3 separate regions of the Homo sapiens genome follow, and all the other regions are linked to region 3. Evidence: promoter capture Hi-C in 16 types of primary human blood cells and fetal thymus (Javierre and others, 2016). All regions are on one chromosome and are shown on one strand. Each heading gives the region's core, a stretch centred on a gene start or on the middle of the fragment in contact. The rest is flanking DNA. Distances are from core to core; before and after follow the strand shown.

What was found. The method cuts DNA at HindIII sites, captures the fragments that hold promoters and counts their contacts. A CHiCAGO score of 5 or more calls a contact.
Region 1: a fragment that was not itself captured here is called in contact with the fragment with the promoter of ALMS1 in region 3 in 2 of 17 cell types (total CD8 T cells and non-activated CD4 T cells); the score reaches 7.2 in total CD8 T cells.
Region 2: a contact is called between a fragment that was not itself captured here and the fragment with the promoter of ALMS1 in region 3, in 1 of 17 cell types (fetal thymus). The highest score is 6.3, in fetal thymus.

The regions. Positions count from the first base shown.
Region 1 is chr2:71,228,237-71,232,949 of GRCh38, forward strand. No RefSeq gene overlaps it. Among named protein-coding and RNA genes, the nearest start is that of PAIP2B, 3.5 kb to the left of the region's middle. The HindIII fragment of the contact is 2,277 bases long and covers 945-3,221 here.
Region 2 is chr2:71,066,278-71,070,957 of GRCh38, forward strand. NAGK (N-acetylglucosamine kinase) reads left to right here and starts at 2,371. Exons shown (of 10, transcript NM_017567.6): 1 at 2,371-2,435; 2 at 4,225-4,309; 3 at 4,464-4,562. The coding sequence starts at 2,407. RefSeq lists a silencer at 2,597-2,656. The HindIII fragment of the contact is 1,672 bases long and covers 1,305-2,976 here.
Region 3 is chr2:73,382,738-73,387,395 of GRCh38, forward strand. It overlaps ALMS1 (ALMS1 centrosome and basal body associated protein), which reads left to right and starts at 3,099. Exons shown (of 23, transcript NM_001378454.1): 1 at 3,099-3,455. The coding sequence starts at 3,132. LOC105374804 (a long non-coding RNA gene) reads right to left here and starts at 2,944. Exons shown (of 4, transcript XR_007087053.1): 1 at 2,716-2,944. RefSeq lists enhancers at 2,858-3,607, 3,648-3,887 and silencers at 2,858-3,257, 3,418-3,587. The HindIII fragment of the contact is 2,912 bases long and covers 1,617-4,528 here.

The DNA of each region.
Region 1 (4,713 bases), core at 833-3,332, 2.2 Mb before region 3:
ATGACACAAAGTTAGGGAATTGCAGAATGAATGGAAAAAATATAAAAATGAAAAAGATAAACTCAAATAACAATTATAAATATTAGCTGTATACTTTGATATGGTTTGGCTCTGTGTCCCCACCCAAATCTCATTTTGAATTATAATTCCCAATGTTGGGGGAGGGACTTGGTGGGAGGCGATTGGATCATGGGGGCAGATTTCCCCCTTGCTGTTCTCGTGATAGTGAGTGAGTTCTCACAAGGTCTGATGGTAAAAAAAGTGTGTGTCCTTCCCCCTTAGCTCTCTCTCCCTCTTGCTACCATGTGAAAACGTGCTTGCTTCCCCTTTGCCCTGATTGTAAGTTTCCTGAGGCCTCACCAGCCATGCCTCCTGTACAGCCTGAGGAACGGTGAGTCAATTAAACCTCTTTTCTTTATAAATTACTCAGTCTCAGGTAGTTCTTTATAGCAATGTGAGAATGGACTAATACATACTTCATATTAAATGATATAAGTAAATAAATAAATTCATTCAACAAGTATTATTTAGCATCTACTATGAATGTTCTAGGCTCTGATCATGGAACTGGGTATATGATATGAATAAGACAGTGAAGATGCACCCATGGTGTTTATACTGTAGTGAAGGAGACTGACAACAGAAAAGTAACCAATAAATAATAAAATGGTATGTTGTGAATAAATGCTACAAAGGAAAATAAAGCAGAGTCATGGGATGGTTGGGGAAATGGCTATTTTAAGTAGGATGGTTAGTTTAAGAGCTGTTTGAGGAAACAGCACTGAACAGAGATGTGAATAATGTGAAGAAGTGAAGAGTGGGAAGGGGCTAATAAGCAGAGCCACTACAGTGCACAACTCCAGGATCACTATTCACATTGCTCCATGTATTTTGAAGTTGTGTATTAGGTGTACATCCATTTAGGGCTGCCAACTCTGGTTTAAAGCTTTATTTGATTACATAATTTAAATGACGCCTGCAAGAAACATGTGTCTTTTAGAAAAAAAAAAATCTCTCTCTAGGATAGCATCCCCATACCCTCCACTGCTTCTTTCCCTGAATTGGCCTTCCGGTGTATGATGAGAGAAAGTTTACACAATCTCATAGGTTTGAAAAACAGGCTCTTCTGGTCCACGTGGTGTCCTTGAGCAGTCAGAAATACTCCTTGAGGATGAACCTTTATTACCAGGATAGCAATGGGATGTAAGGAAGGGTTGATGAACTTCTCTCGTCTCACTTCCTACCACTGGTGCCATCTATTATAAATTCATGGCTGGCTATTACCAGTGATAAAGAGAAAAGTCTTAAAAGCAGGCAGAAAAAAAATATGGCCATTTTAAGTAGAATGGTTAGTTTAAGAGCTGTTTGAGGAAAGACCATTGAACAGAGATGTGAAGAAGTGAAGAGCAGGAAGGGGCTGGGAAACATACAGAGGGGAAAAAATAGATAAGAATTACAGCAAATTTCTTATCAGAAACTATGGAAGCCAAAAGACAATGAAGGAATGAGGTAGCAATGTGGGTATCTGGTGGTGGTGGGCAGGGACAGATATGAGACAAAAACCAGTCATAAAGTTGTAGGAGATGATGTCAATGAGAGGGAGGGAGGCAAGAGAAGCCCATCACCCTTCCCCACATCCTATTGCTATTAGGGCAATAAATCTTCAACCTTGAAGATTACATCATTTCATTTTTTAAAATTTAATTGTGGTAAAATATATATAAAATTTACCATCTTAACTATTTTAAGTGTACAGTTCAGTTACAGTAAGTACATTCACATTTTTGTGCAATCATCACCACAATCCACCTGCAGAACATTTTCATCATTCCTAACAAAAATTCTGTACCCATTAAACACTAACTCCCCATTCTCCCCTTACCCCAGCCCCTGGAAATCACCATTCTGTTTTCTGTATCTGTGAATTTGACTGCTCTAGGTATCACGTGTAAGTGAAATTATGTAATATTTGTCCTTCTGTGTTTGGCTTTATGTCTCCCACGTTTAAGTATCAGAATTTCTTTTCTTTTTAAGGCTGAGTAGCATCATTATAGGTATATGTCCTATTTTGTTTATCAATTCATCCATTGATGGACATTTGGGTTGTTTCTATCTTTTGCCTATTGTGAATAATGTTGGTATGCAAATATCTGTTCAAGGGCCTGCTTTCAATTATTTTGGGTATATATTCTGAAGTAGAATTGTTAGGCCATATAGTAACTCTATGTTTAATTTTTTGAGGAACCACCGTACTGTTTTCCACAGTGGCTGCACCATTTTGCATTCCCGCCAACAATGTACGAAGTTTCCAATTTCTACACATCCTTGCCAACAGTAGTTTCTTTTCTGTTTTTTTTTTTTTTTTTTTTAAATAATAGCCATCCTAATGAGTGTGAAATGGTACCTTATCCAGGTTTTGGTTTGCATTTTATTTTATTTTTCCCATAACTCAGAATGCAATTTTATTTCATTTATTTTTCAAGACAGGGTCTTGTTCTTTCACCCGAGCTGGAGTTCAGTGGCGTGATCATGGCTCACTACAGCCTCAACTCTTGGGCTCAAGCAATCCTTCCACCTTGGCCTGCCAAGTAGCTGGACTACAGGCACGTGCCACCATGCCCAGCTAATTTTTAAATTTGTTGTAGATATGGGGTCTCACTTTGTTGCCTAGGGTGGTCTTGTGCCTGGACTCAAATGATCCTGCCAACTCAGCCTCCCAAACTGCTGGGATTACAGGCATGAGCTACCACTCCGTTTGGTTTGCCTTTACCTAATGATCAGTTATGTTGAGCATCTTTTTTTGTGCTTATTGGCGACTTGTACTTCTGTTTTGGAGAAATGTCTATTCAAGTCCCTTGCCCATTTTTGAATCAGATTGTTTTCTTTTTGAGTTGTAGGGGTTTAAAGAAATATATTCTGGACATTAATCCCTTATCAGATATATGATTTGCAAATATCCTGTGAGTTGCCCTTTCTCTATATTGATAGTGTCCTTTAATACTTGGGGACTACATTTCTGAATGTGCAAGTATACTATCTGGCACTAGAGAGCTTATTTTTCAAAGCTATAAGATCTCATAAGCCCTCTCTTACCATACTCCTGAAAGCCACCTTAGGGAAAGAAGCACTGCTGGGTATGGAGAGATTATTACAGAGACAGATCACTTTTTCCCAAAAGAGCTAAGCATTTCTTATAAGGTTCATTTTATTTAACCAGACAAAGCTTTAAAGTGGAGTGGATATCTAGTTGGTTTTTGGTCTCCCCTCACAACCTAGAGAGGTTCCTGGAAGAAAATGAGATAAGCTGGGAGATAAAGAAATCAGTGGATACACCAACAGCCAACCAAAAGATTCTTCTAGACATCTTCAGGTACCCCAAGAAGAAAGTGAAAAAGAGAAGAGTCTTTGACTCCTCTCTCAAGAAAGTTGTATTATCCATTCATGCTAGAATCAGGAGGACTTCTGCAACTGAGGATCACTAACCCTGGGCAATTTCCACTTGAACACTTCAAGACTTCTTTCTGGGCACCATCATCCACTCATCTATGACTTAATCAGTCCAAGCACCCAGGCTTATTCTACTAGGCAAATAATCTTTCTATGGGGACATTGACTAACCCACGATAAAATACCTAGAGATACTGGCATTTAGAAGTACCCAAGAAATTTCTGGATCCCACCTTATTCCCTGTGGAGAGACCAACTAGTCAACAAGCCCCATTACACACTGTTATCTTTATAGTACCTCATTCTTTTTTTCTTTCTTTTTTGAGACAGGGTCTCACTCTATTGCCTAGGTGGAAGTAGAGTGACACCATCATAGCTCACTGCAGTCTCAAACTCCTGGGCTCAAGTGATCCTCCCTCCACAGTCTCCCAAGTAATGGGGAATACAGGTGTACATCACCATGTCCTGATAATTTATTATTTTTTTTTTTTGTAGAGATAGGGTTTTGTTATATTGCCCAGGCTGGTCCTAAACTCCTGGCCTCAAGCAATCCTGCCACGTTGGCCTTCCAAAGCCCTGGGATTACAAGTGTGAGCCACTGTGCCCAGCCTAGTGCCTCATTCTTTAATATAAACAGACAGCTAATGATTACCAGAAAATTGAGGAAAGCCTCTAACATAAATGACAAAGATCAAAATAAATATACAGAAAAAAATTAACTCAGTGGTAACAGAAATAATGCAAGAAGCAGAGGAAAATGGAAAAAAAACCCTTAATATTCTTTAAAAATAAGATACTGTATCACCAAAAAAGAATAAAATGCTGCTTTTAAAAAGGAACATTCAGAGAACAAAAAAGCATTCTTGGAAATTAAAAATAAAAACTCTTCAAAATTTAGAGCTTCATTTTGCTCTCACATATCAGCAGCCTGGAAGTAAGAAACTCTGGGGCTTCCATATTCCACACAGCAGGCAGGAGCAAGAAGTAAAGAAGGATATGTCTCTGCCCTCAAGAGACTTCAAGGAAGTCTTCCACTCACCATTTCCATCCAGCTAAATAGAACGTAGTCATCTGGATAAACTTAGCTTGCCAGAGTATCGGGGGAACCAGCCCCCAATATTTCAATGTAGGTTCTTTTCTATTTTCCCTAAGTGTCAGCTGGTCTGAGAAATAAAGAGAAAGAGTACAAAGAGAGAAATTTTACAGCTGGGCTTCCTGGGGCATCATCACATATTGGTAGGACCGTGATGGCAACCCCAAGCCTCA
Region 2 (4,680 bases), core at 891-3,390, 2.3 Mb before region 3:
TTTTTTTTTTTTTTTTTTTGAGACGGAGTTTCACTCTTGTCACCCAAGCTGGAGTGCAATGGCACAATCTTGGCTCACCACAACCTCCACCTCCTGGGTTCAAGTGATTCTCCTGCCTCAGCCTCCCAAGTAGCTGGGATTACAGGCGCCTGTCACCACGCCCAACTAACTTTTGTATTTTTAGTAGAGACAGGGTCTCGCCCTGTTGGCCAGGCTGGTCTTGAACTCCTGATCTTGGGTGATCCACCCCCTCGGCCTCCCAAAGTGCTGGGATTACAGGAATGAGCCACCACGCCCGGCTACTTTCTTCTTTAAATCAATTATATGGCCATTATTTATTTCATAAATAGGCATTCAGTGACTTTGAAATATTATGGTCCAGATAGAGACAACAGGGTTGTACAACAGAAATATGTAGGTCAAAATTTTAAATATTCTAGTAGTGACACTAAAAAATATAATAGATTGGCAAAATTTAGTAATCTATAATCTTGATCTACTACATCCAGAATGTTATTTCAACATGTGATTCATATAATAGTGACTAATGAGGTATCTTACACTCTTTTTTTGTAGTAAGTCTTTGAAATCCTGTGTGTATTCTACATTGACGGGACATCTCATTTTGGACTAACCACATTTCAAGTGCTCAGTATTCACATATGGATACTGTGCAGGACAGCACACACTAATTGGTAATGTAAATACAAGTTAGTTAAGATCTGTGAAGTACTTTATGGTTTCCAAAACTCTTTTGGCATTTAAATCTTGCGTCAGCCCCAGCAGGTAGATGTTTATCATTTCCATTTTGTAGAGGAGAGGCTGCAGCAATTACCTGTAAGTCACCCAAGCTCATCCAGCTAGTAAATGGTGAACTCAATTCTTGTCTTAAACCTGGGCACTTTCCCTTTTGCTTGCTTGCCTAAACAAGCAATACAAAGACAAACTTAATATTTATACACATACGTCCCATGGCTCATTGCAGTAGTACAGGACAGAAACAATTATTTCAAAATCCACCTACAATCTAGTCTCCAAAAATCCTGCCCAGTTTAATTGCACCACAATCTACTAACTGTAATTCTAAAAATGTGTATGTTGGATAATCTTCCAGCTCTAAAGTGCTGTGAATTAAAAAAATGCCATAGGCAGGCATAAAAAAATCCTACCCTCTATTATATTCTCCATCTGATATAGAATATATGATATATATTCTATAAATGAATACATGATACAGAGTCTATCATGTAGTGATTTACTTTTTACTTTTGTGAATTACAACGTGGTAGGGTAGGAAATGAGAAAGCTTAAAAAGCCTAATTTTCTCACTAAAGCATAACCAGACACAGCAGCCTATTAGGGGTTTCTCCAGAAGATGGCAGGCAGTCAAGGGGGACAGAGTTCGACCCGCGACAGGCCAACTGATTTCCCCAAAAAGATGCCAAGGGCAGCTAACCGCCCTCCTGGCCCGCGAAGCTGCTCCTTGAGGGCCCAAAACTTCCCGGAGGAGCCAGAGGAGGCCCTCAGGAGCCACAGCTCTCCCTGACTTGGCCTGTATTTGCACCCCTAGGGATCCCATTCCCTTTCCCGACGCAGCGCAAGGAAGGGGAGCGGAATGGGGGCTGAAAGGCAATAAAAAACTTGTAAAGCCGTATCTGCTAGTTCTCCCAGTGGGCTATGTCCCTGCAAATATCCTCCACAAGAAGTAAACTGGGTGGGTAGGAAGAGGTGAAGGCTCCCTCCTCAGGGCTGCCGGGACCGCCTCGAGGGCTTGTCTGTTTAGGTCCCAATTCCTCCCGGATCCGTACATTCACACGAGCGCAGGGCAACAATCTGAGCGAGTGTTCGTGTGTGCCCGTGTGACTCGCCATCGCGTGGCAGATGTTCAGTAGAACATTACAGTAATTTCTGTTACAGGTCCATGGGCGCAGGTCCCTGAGCCCACAGCTTCGCGGGGGTCTGGCCGAGCATGCGTCACAACCTACGCGGCCAAGAGCAGTGCGCACGCGCAACCTAACGCGGGACTGCCAGCAACTTCCGGGCGTTTACAGGCAGGCAGGTCAGTGATGTGTCCTAAGGGTCCGACCGACCTAGATACCCCTCTTTGATTCCTCCTCTTGGGATTAGTGTCCATCTCTGGAAGCAGGATCCAGGAGGACGGGAGGGGCCGCTGCGGACCGCAGTCGCTCCACCTGGAGGAGACACCAGAAGGAAGACAGCCTGAGGGACGCAGCCATCCCCGGCTCCTACCGGCGCCCCGCCCCGCGCATGCGCACGCGCACAGGGAGTCAGCTGGCTGCGCGGGAGGTCACGGGAAGTGGGGCGGTGCCCAGACAGCTGGAGGGAAGGAGGTGTCAGGCGGGGAGAGACGCAAACGGCGGGACCAGCAGCGACGGTAGCAGCAGCATGGCCGCGATCTATGGGGGTGTAGAGGGGTGAGTGCGGCCCGGCGGAGGGAGCCTGGGCCCGAAGGCGGGGCGGAAGGCCGTGGCCAGCCTGGCAAGCTGGTGGCCTTGATCCTCGGCGTCCGGGCACTTTGGGCGGCGGGACCTTGCGGTGAAGAGGTGTGTGCACGCGCAGGGGCGCCCTGGAGCGCACAGCTGTATGCCTTACGGGGACTCTGCCTGTGCAACAGCCACACCCCGGGTTGGGGATCCTTTGTGTTTCTTGGCGGAACCACGCCCCTTTCTTCCACGAAACACCCACTCCGCTGTCTTCAGCTGGAGAAGCAGCTCCTTTTTCCTATTCCTGACCTCGGACAGAGTTTTGCAGAACAGGTGTCAGGTGTGAAATTGCTGAGCGCGGGCAGGGTGGGGAGTGGGAGTGGGGAGAAGCGGGACAAAGATCTTGGCTGAGGTTATCCGGGAGCTGGAGCAGCTGCGAGCCAGAGTACTAGGTTGTCCTGATGTCTGAAAACCGCTCCATCCCTGTTGGCCTTCCATGCTGCTTTCACTAGATTGCATTTTTCTGCTCAGAAGCTTGTTTACTGAACTTTTTGTAATAGCTCTGCCCCTGGGTATGACCATGGACAAGATATTTACCCTCCCTGGGCTACAGTTACCGTATGTGCAAAGTGAGGATAGGGATAAATAAGATCGCTATGTCCCTGCCAGTGGCAACATTCTGTGAATCTGAGTTTGTCAAATCAGGGAATAATGGGGGTCGCTGGCCTCTCAGCCAGGGCACTGTACTTTCGAATCTGTGATTGTTTTCACTTCTCTGGCAGCCACACCCCACTGCTGATTCACAGACCCCAAAGTCTTTTCACATGAATTGTTAGGAATGATCTTTCCCATCCTGTATTTGTAGCACTTAAAAAAAACAGTATAGGAGTCTGCATTCATCCTTGTTATAGTCATCTGTAAGATATGACCCGTTTCTTCCAGTTCGTCAAGACATGCTTTTGGATGTGGAATCTGCCACCTCATGTATTAACTACCCCCTTGAAATTTCATGTCCTCTTTGAGTTTGATGAGCGGTCTTCAGTGTCTTCTTCTGCCATTCCTAAAAGTAATGATCAATAAAGAAACATATATCCCATCACCACAGATCTCCCTGTGAACTACTGTGACCCCCAGTAATCAACATTTGAAGGTTTAGTTGCTTAAGTATGTATGAAGTCACCCTGCCATCTGGTCAGCATTTCTAGCAAAGGTGTCTTGAAGACCTTGGCAGCTGGATCTTGAAATGCAGTCTTTAGCTATTGTGAGGGAAGCAGAGAGATGTGCCATTTTTCTTAGGAGTGTTTGCTGAGCATTGCCTGTGCCAGCTCCTGTGCTCGTTCTGAGAGGGTAAGTAAGTGATCAGGAGCTTGACCCAGTGGAGCTTGAAGTCTAGTGAGAGGCGGACACAAAGCGTCTGAACACACACTTCATACAGAGGAGACTTTAATAACTTTGGAGGCACTATGAAGGTTTAACTAACGGAGACTTAACTAATTCGTTGGGGTGGGCCACACCTCAGAAAAGGTTTCGAGGACTAGGTGAAGCGTAAGTAGAGTCTTGCAGGATAAGGAGGACATCCCCAAGGGAAGAGGAGTGAGAATTATGTTTCAGTTAAAGAGCACTCAAACACTGAACCACAGAGGCGGGTTTGGGAGTGGTGATTGAGTTTGTCGAAGCTGTCTCCTCCATCATACTGGGCTCTGCCAGTGTGGACAGCACAAGCTTAGCTCTCTCTGTGGGTTTTTCCGAGCAAGATCAAGTGCCCTCTTGTGTTCTGTAGGGGAGGCACACGATCCGAGGTCCTTTTAGTCTCAGAGGATGGGAAGATCCTGGCAGAAGCAGATGGACTGAGCACAAACCACTGGGTAAAAACCACACTGAGGGGATCAGAGGGCTTGGTTCTGATTTTATTCTCTGTAATTCCTGTTGAGGTGGTGGCTGGGACTCACAGAGCAGCCTGTGGGGGCAACATAGCTTCTGTAAGCCTTTGTAACTCCTTCTTCCCTTGATTGGGGCCAGCTGATCGGGACAGACAAGTGTGTGGAGAGGATCAATGAGATGGTGAACAGGGCCAAACGGAAAGCAGGGGTGGATCCTCTGGTACCGCTGCGAAGCTTGGTGAGTCTGGGGCGGAGCCTGGGAATTCAGCCATCTGTGACACTGAGACAGCTAGCAAGTTTGGACTAGATGAGTTTGATGACTGCAGAGGGAAAGACCTCCAAGACTTAGTCCCTGG
Region 3 (4,658 bases), core at 1,849-4,348:
ACTGCATTGGGAGGATAAGGGCTATTTAGCACATCAGGGACAAGCCAACTTTCTTTCCCTCAGGATAAGCAGATTTCTTGGATGAAGTTAAACAGGTTTCTCCAAAGCAGGCTGGAATGTTTTGGAAGAGAATGACCTGAGTAGTGTATAAAGAATAGCCCCAATATTAGTTTCTATTCCTGAAGGGCTAGGTTTTTCTCATAGGATTGTAATGACTTCAGGGAAACATTCTGTTGAAGTGTAGGTCAAGGTCCAATTTTTAGAAGACTGAGGTTTGGGATGAACTTTGTGGGGAATGCTTAAGTACCAGAAGTGACCTACAGAAGAAAATCTACTTGATGAAGTCTATGAAAGCACAGTTATTAAATTTTGTCAACAATTCCTTAAAAGCAGTAGCTACGGTTTGAGAAAAACACTCCAGAAAGTGTCTCTTTTCTTTTCTTTTTTTCCTTCCCTTTCCTTTCTCTTTCCCTTTCCCCTTTCCCCTCCTTTCCTTTCCTTTCTCTTTCTCTCTTCTCCCTTTCTCTCTTTCTTTTTTAGATTGGGTTTCACTTTGTTGCCCATTGGCACGATCACAGCTCACTGCAGTCTTGGACTCCTGAGCTTCAAGGACCCTCTTGCCTCAGCCTCCTGAGTAGCTGGGACTCCAGATACGTGCCACCATGCCCAGCTAATTTTTTATTGTTTTTAGAGATGGGGGTCTTGCTACATTGCCTACGTTAGTTAGACTCCTGGTCTCAAGTGATCTTCCCACCTTGGCTTTCTAAAGTGCTGGAATTACAGGTATGACCCACTGCACCTGGCCAAATAATGTTTACTTTAAGTAGTAGAACATAGGGAGTCAAAAGTAACAGGATGAAGATAAGGGTTATCTCCCCGAGAAATCAATTTGTTAGTTAATCAAGGGTGTCAAAATGCAATAAGCAAGATTAGTGGTAGGGTAAGAGATGCCAAGGAATCAGAAATTAATCTTGTCCTGTTGTCTTGGGTATAAACTGCCCATTTCTGCAGTAAGCAGCTTCTGGGGAAGTCCCAGGAATCTTCAGTTTGAGGTCTTCCAATAGTATGGGATGTCCGGTAGCCAGGAGAAAATGATGCATGTCTTTTTAGTTGTGTAATATGAATCCAGGGATCAATGTCTTCTAGTTTTACTCCTGGGTCAGTTGTTGATAGTACCTGACATTTTTTTTTCTTGCATTGAGGCTCAAGGGAAATTGTTTTCTAATGCTTTTTCAGAAGACCAAATCTCTAACTTCAGAAGCTGCTTAGGTGGGTGCTTTGAGAATGCAGCTTCCATCTGTTGTTGATAAAGCAGGAGTTAATCTTAGAAGTCTCCTGCAGCAATTAGTGATAACAGCTTATATTAGTAGCATCTAGTATTGGAAGTAATTCACAAATACATGAGGAAGCCTGTTATTAACTCAGAAGGAGATAACTTATGGGCCTTAGAATGGACTGACCTTATTGCCATCAAGGCAAATAGAAGTACTTTGGGCTTTGGAAGTTAGATGGAAGTTAGAGAACTTTGAAAGCTATTTTTTAGAATTCTATTAGTTCTCTTTATCTTTCCTGAAATTTGTGGATGCAAAAAGATAGCGGAGTTTCTAAAAAGGTAAAGCTTTACAGTTATTTAATATCAGTGAAATGTGTGTCCTCTTACTGGAGATAAACATTGAGATTTCACATTCAGGAATACAAAATTAATAAATTCTTTTCTACTATTACAGTAATAGGTCTCCGGCAAGGAGAACCCCTAAACCCCTTAAGAATAAATAACCCTAATGTACTCATAGTCCATTTAGAGGTGTTCAACAGAACTCCAAGACTGGGCTCCAGTTCATGTTCTACCCTTAAAGTTTTGCCAGGATTGGGTCATTGACAGGTAGGCAGGACATACATCCTTGGCAATAACCCTAAAATTGCCCCACCAACATTGGTTCAGCATCATTATCAATGTATCTCTACTATTGTGGGTAATACCATGAAGACTTTTTGCTGGACTCCACTTTAATTATGGCTATTTCCTTTGGTAACAGTGAAGCATCTCAAGATTATAATTATTATTTAAAATTTTAATTTAAAAATTTTCCCCATAGGTTATTGGGGGTACAGGTGGTGTCTGGTTACATGGCATCTTAAGATACTTTAATTTGCCATTCATTTCGTAGAGGTTCCTGAAGCGGTCAGGAAATCTTTGTTTTTAAAGCACTCCAAAGTCATTGACGAACCACCAAAACATATGTACTATCAGTATAAATATTTGCTCTGTTATCCTTTAACAGCTGGTTGGTCTAGGCCAGGGCAATTCCTACACTAACAGAGGACCTGGGATGGCATACTGAGTCAGCCACTTACTAGGTAAGAAACTTTGGGCAAATTAATTTTTTTAGCCTCAGATTCTTCATACATGAAATAGTAATACTTGTCTCACAGAACCGTGAGCATCTAATGAGTTATTGTACAATAACCAACCTATCACTAAGTCCTTCACATTGATTATTTCCTTTAATTATCACACCCATCCTATGCGATGGCCTATTATCATCGTTTTATAAACACAAAGTCACACCACTTTAAGTGGTGATGCCAGGATTCAAACTCCGATCTTTCTGATGCCAGTGCCCAGTTCTTAATCCCTCTAACAACCCGTGACACTTTTCCACGGTTAGGTTCAAGCGCCCACCATACAGCTTGACACTTTAGGAGATACTCAACCTTTAAAACTTTATAATTTGCATGTGTGATTATAACGGGTACGTCCTAGAGTTTGATCTCTTCTCTGTGCAGGGGCGAAACTCGACCCCAGCCGAGAACTACACTGTCCTTGCGCGGGGCCCTCTGCGCCCCGGAAGGCGCCCAGTCCCGGTTTATTGTGAGCTTACAGTACAGTTCGCAAGGTCCCGGCCGGTGACGGCGGCGAGGCGGCAACGTCGCCTGTAGCAAACCTCCGCCCTAAGGCGTTCCCGCCGGGCCTCGCGCGGCGTCCCTAGCAACGCGCGCGCGGTCTTCCGGCCCCGCCCAGGCGGGCGGCACTGCGCCTAAGCTGGGCCACAACCGCCAGTCAGGGCTCTCCCCTTCCCCTCCCTCCCCCCCTCCTCCTCCTCCTCTGCCGCCCAGAGCGAGACACCAACATGGAGCCCGAGGATCTGCCATGGCCGGGCGAGCTGGAGGAGGAGGAGGAGGAGGAGGAGGAGGAGGAGGAGGAAGAGGAGGAGGCTGCAGCGGCGGCGGCGGCGAACGTGGACGACGTAGTGGTCGTGGAGGAGGTGGAGGAAGAGGCGGGGCGGGAGTTGGACTCCGACTCTCACTACGGGCCCCAGCATCTGGAAAGTATAGACGACGAGGAGGACGAGGAGGCCAAGGCCTGGCTGCAGGCGCACCCCGGCAGGATTTTGCCTCCGCTGTCGCCCCCGCAGCACCGCTACTCGGAGGGCGAGCGGACCTCCCTGGAGAAGGTGAGGCGGGCCGGGGAGGGGTGTGGAGCCGCGGCGAGTTGGGGGTGGAGGCTGGGCCCCGAGCGCTCCGCCCGCCCGCAGGTCACGCCGCCTGACGGAGAAAACGCGCGCAGCTGAGGCTAGTAGGCGGCCCAGACTCCAGCCCAGGTGCCGGCCGGCTGCTCCGCGTCTCCCAGGCTTTGTGGCAAAGACTTCTCGTTTCCTCCCCCTCGGTGGGTCCTGGGCCTTTTGAACTCCCGTAGACGTTCAGGGGAGCCTGCATTCCCCGTGAGAAACGCTGAGAGAGGACCACGGGTGTGTCGAGCCTTGAAGGAGGGAAAAGGCGGTGTAGGACCGGAGCGAGTGGTTGCCTGGGGAGCATCTTGTTGGGGAGACAGTGAACAGATGAGCTTGACTGAATTGCAGGACTCCCCTGAGGGAGTAATGTGGATAATGTACACCGCGCGATCACTTAGTCTGGAGAGGCTCCCCGCGGGTTTTCCTCCCCTGGACCATCATTTGTAGCAATAAAGGGGTTCCCCAGCCGATAGGAGGGGCTTGGAATGCAGGAGGCTTGTGATGCGGCTCCAAACAGTCTGCAAAACTACAAAGCACAGATAATACACAATGGAGAAAGCCGATTTCATGGTAGACCCCCGAAGATCATTTTGAAAATAACTCTCCATTTAATTTGCTGCCCTTACCCCCCTTTTTTTAACTTACTGCTTTTCGAGGAGCAAGACCTGCCCTGCTCAGTACAGTAGCCACTGGCCACGTGTGGCTTTTTACATCTTAAAGAGAAAACTATTATAGTTTTGAGTAAGAGTTAAAAATAAATTAAATGAAAAATTCCATGCGTCTGTTCTTACCGGTTTTCAAGTGCTCAGCAGCCACACTAGGCTAGTGGCTACCATGTTGGACAGAGCAGATAATGGAACAGTTCCATCATCACAGACAGTGAAGGTGTAGAGTTTTGTCACTAATGAGCAGTAGTTGTTGTTTTGTCTGGTGAATATTCCAGGGGGTACTTAATTCATTGAACATGTATTATTAGAATTCACCATGTGCCACACATTGTGCTGGGTGCTAAGGAAAGCTTGGTGAACCCAAACATTTTTGGTCTCTGCCTTCCTTGTGTTCATGGTCTAGACAGGGAGGCAGACAGATTTCAGATGATCACATAAAGTGAAACTAATATATGTGCTAATATTCTATGAAAGCATA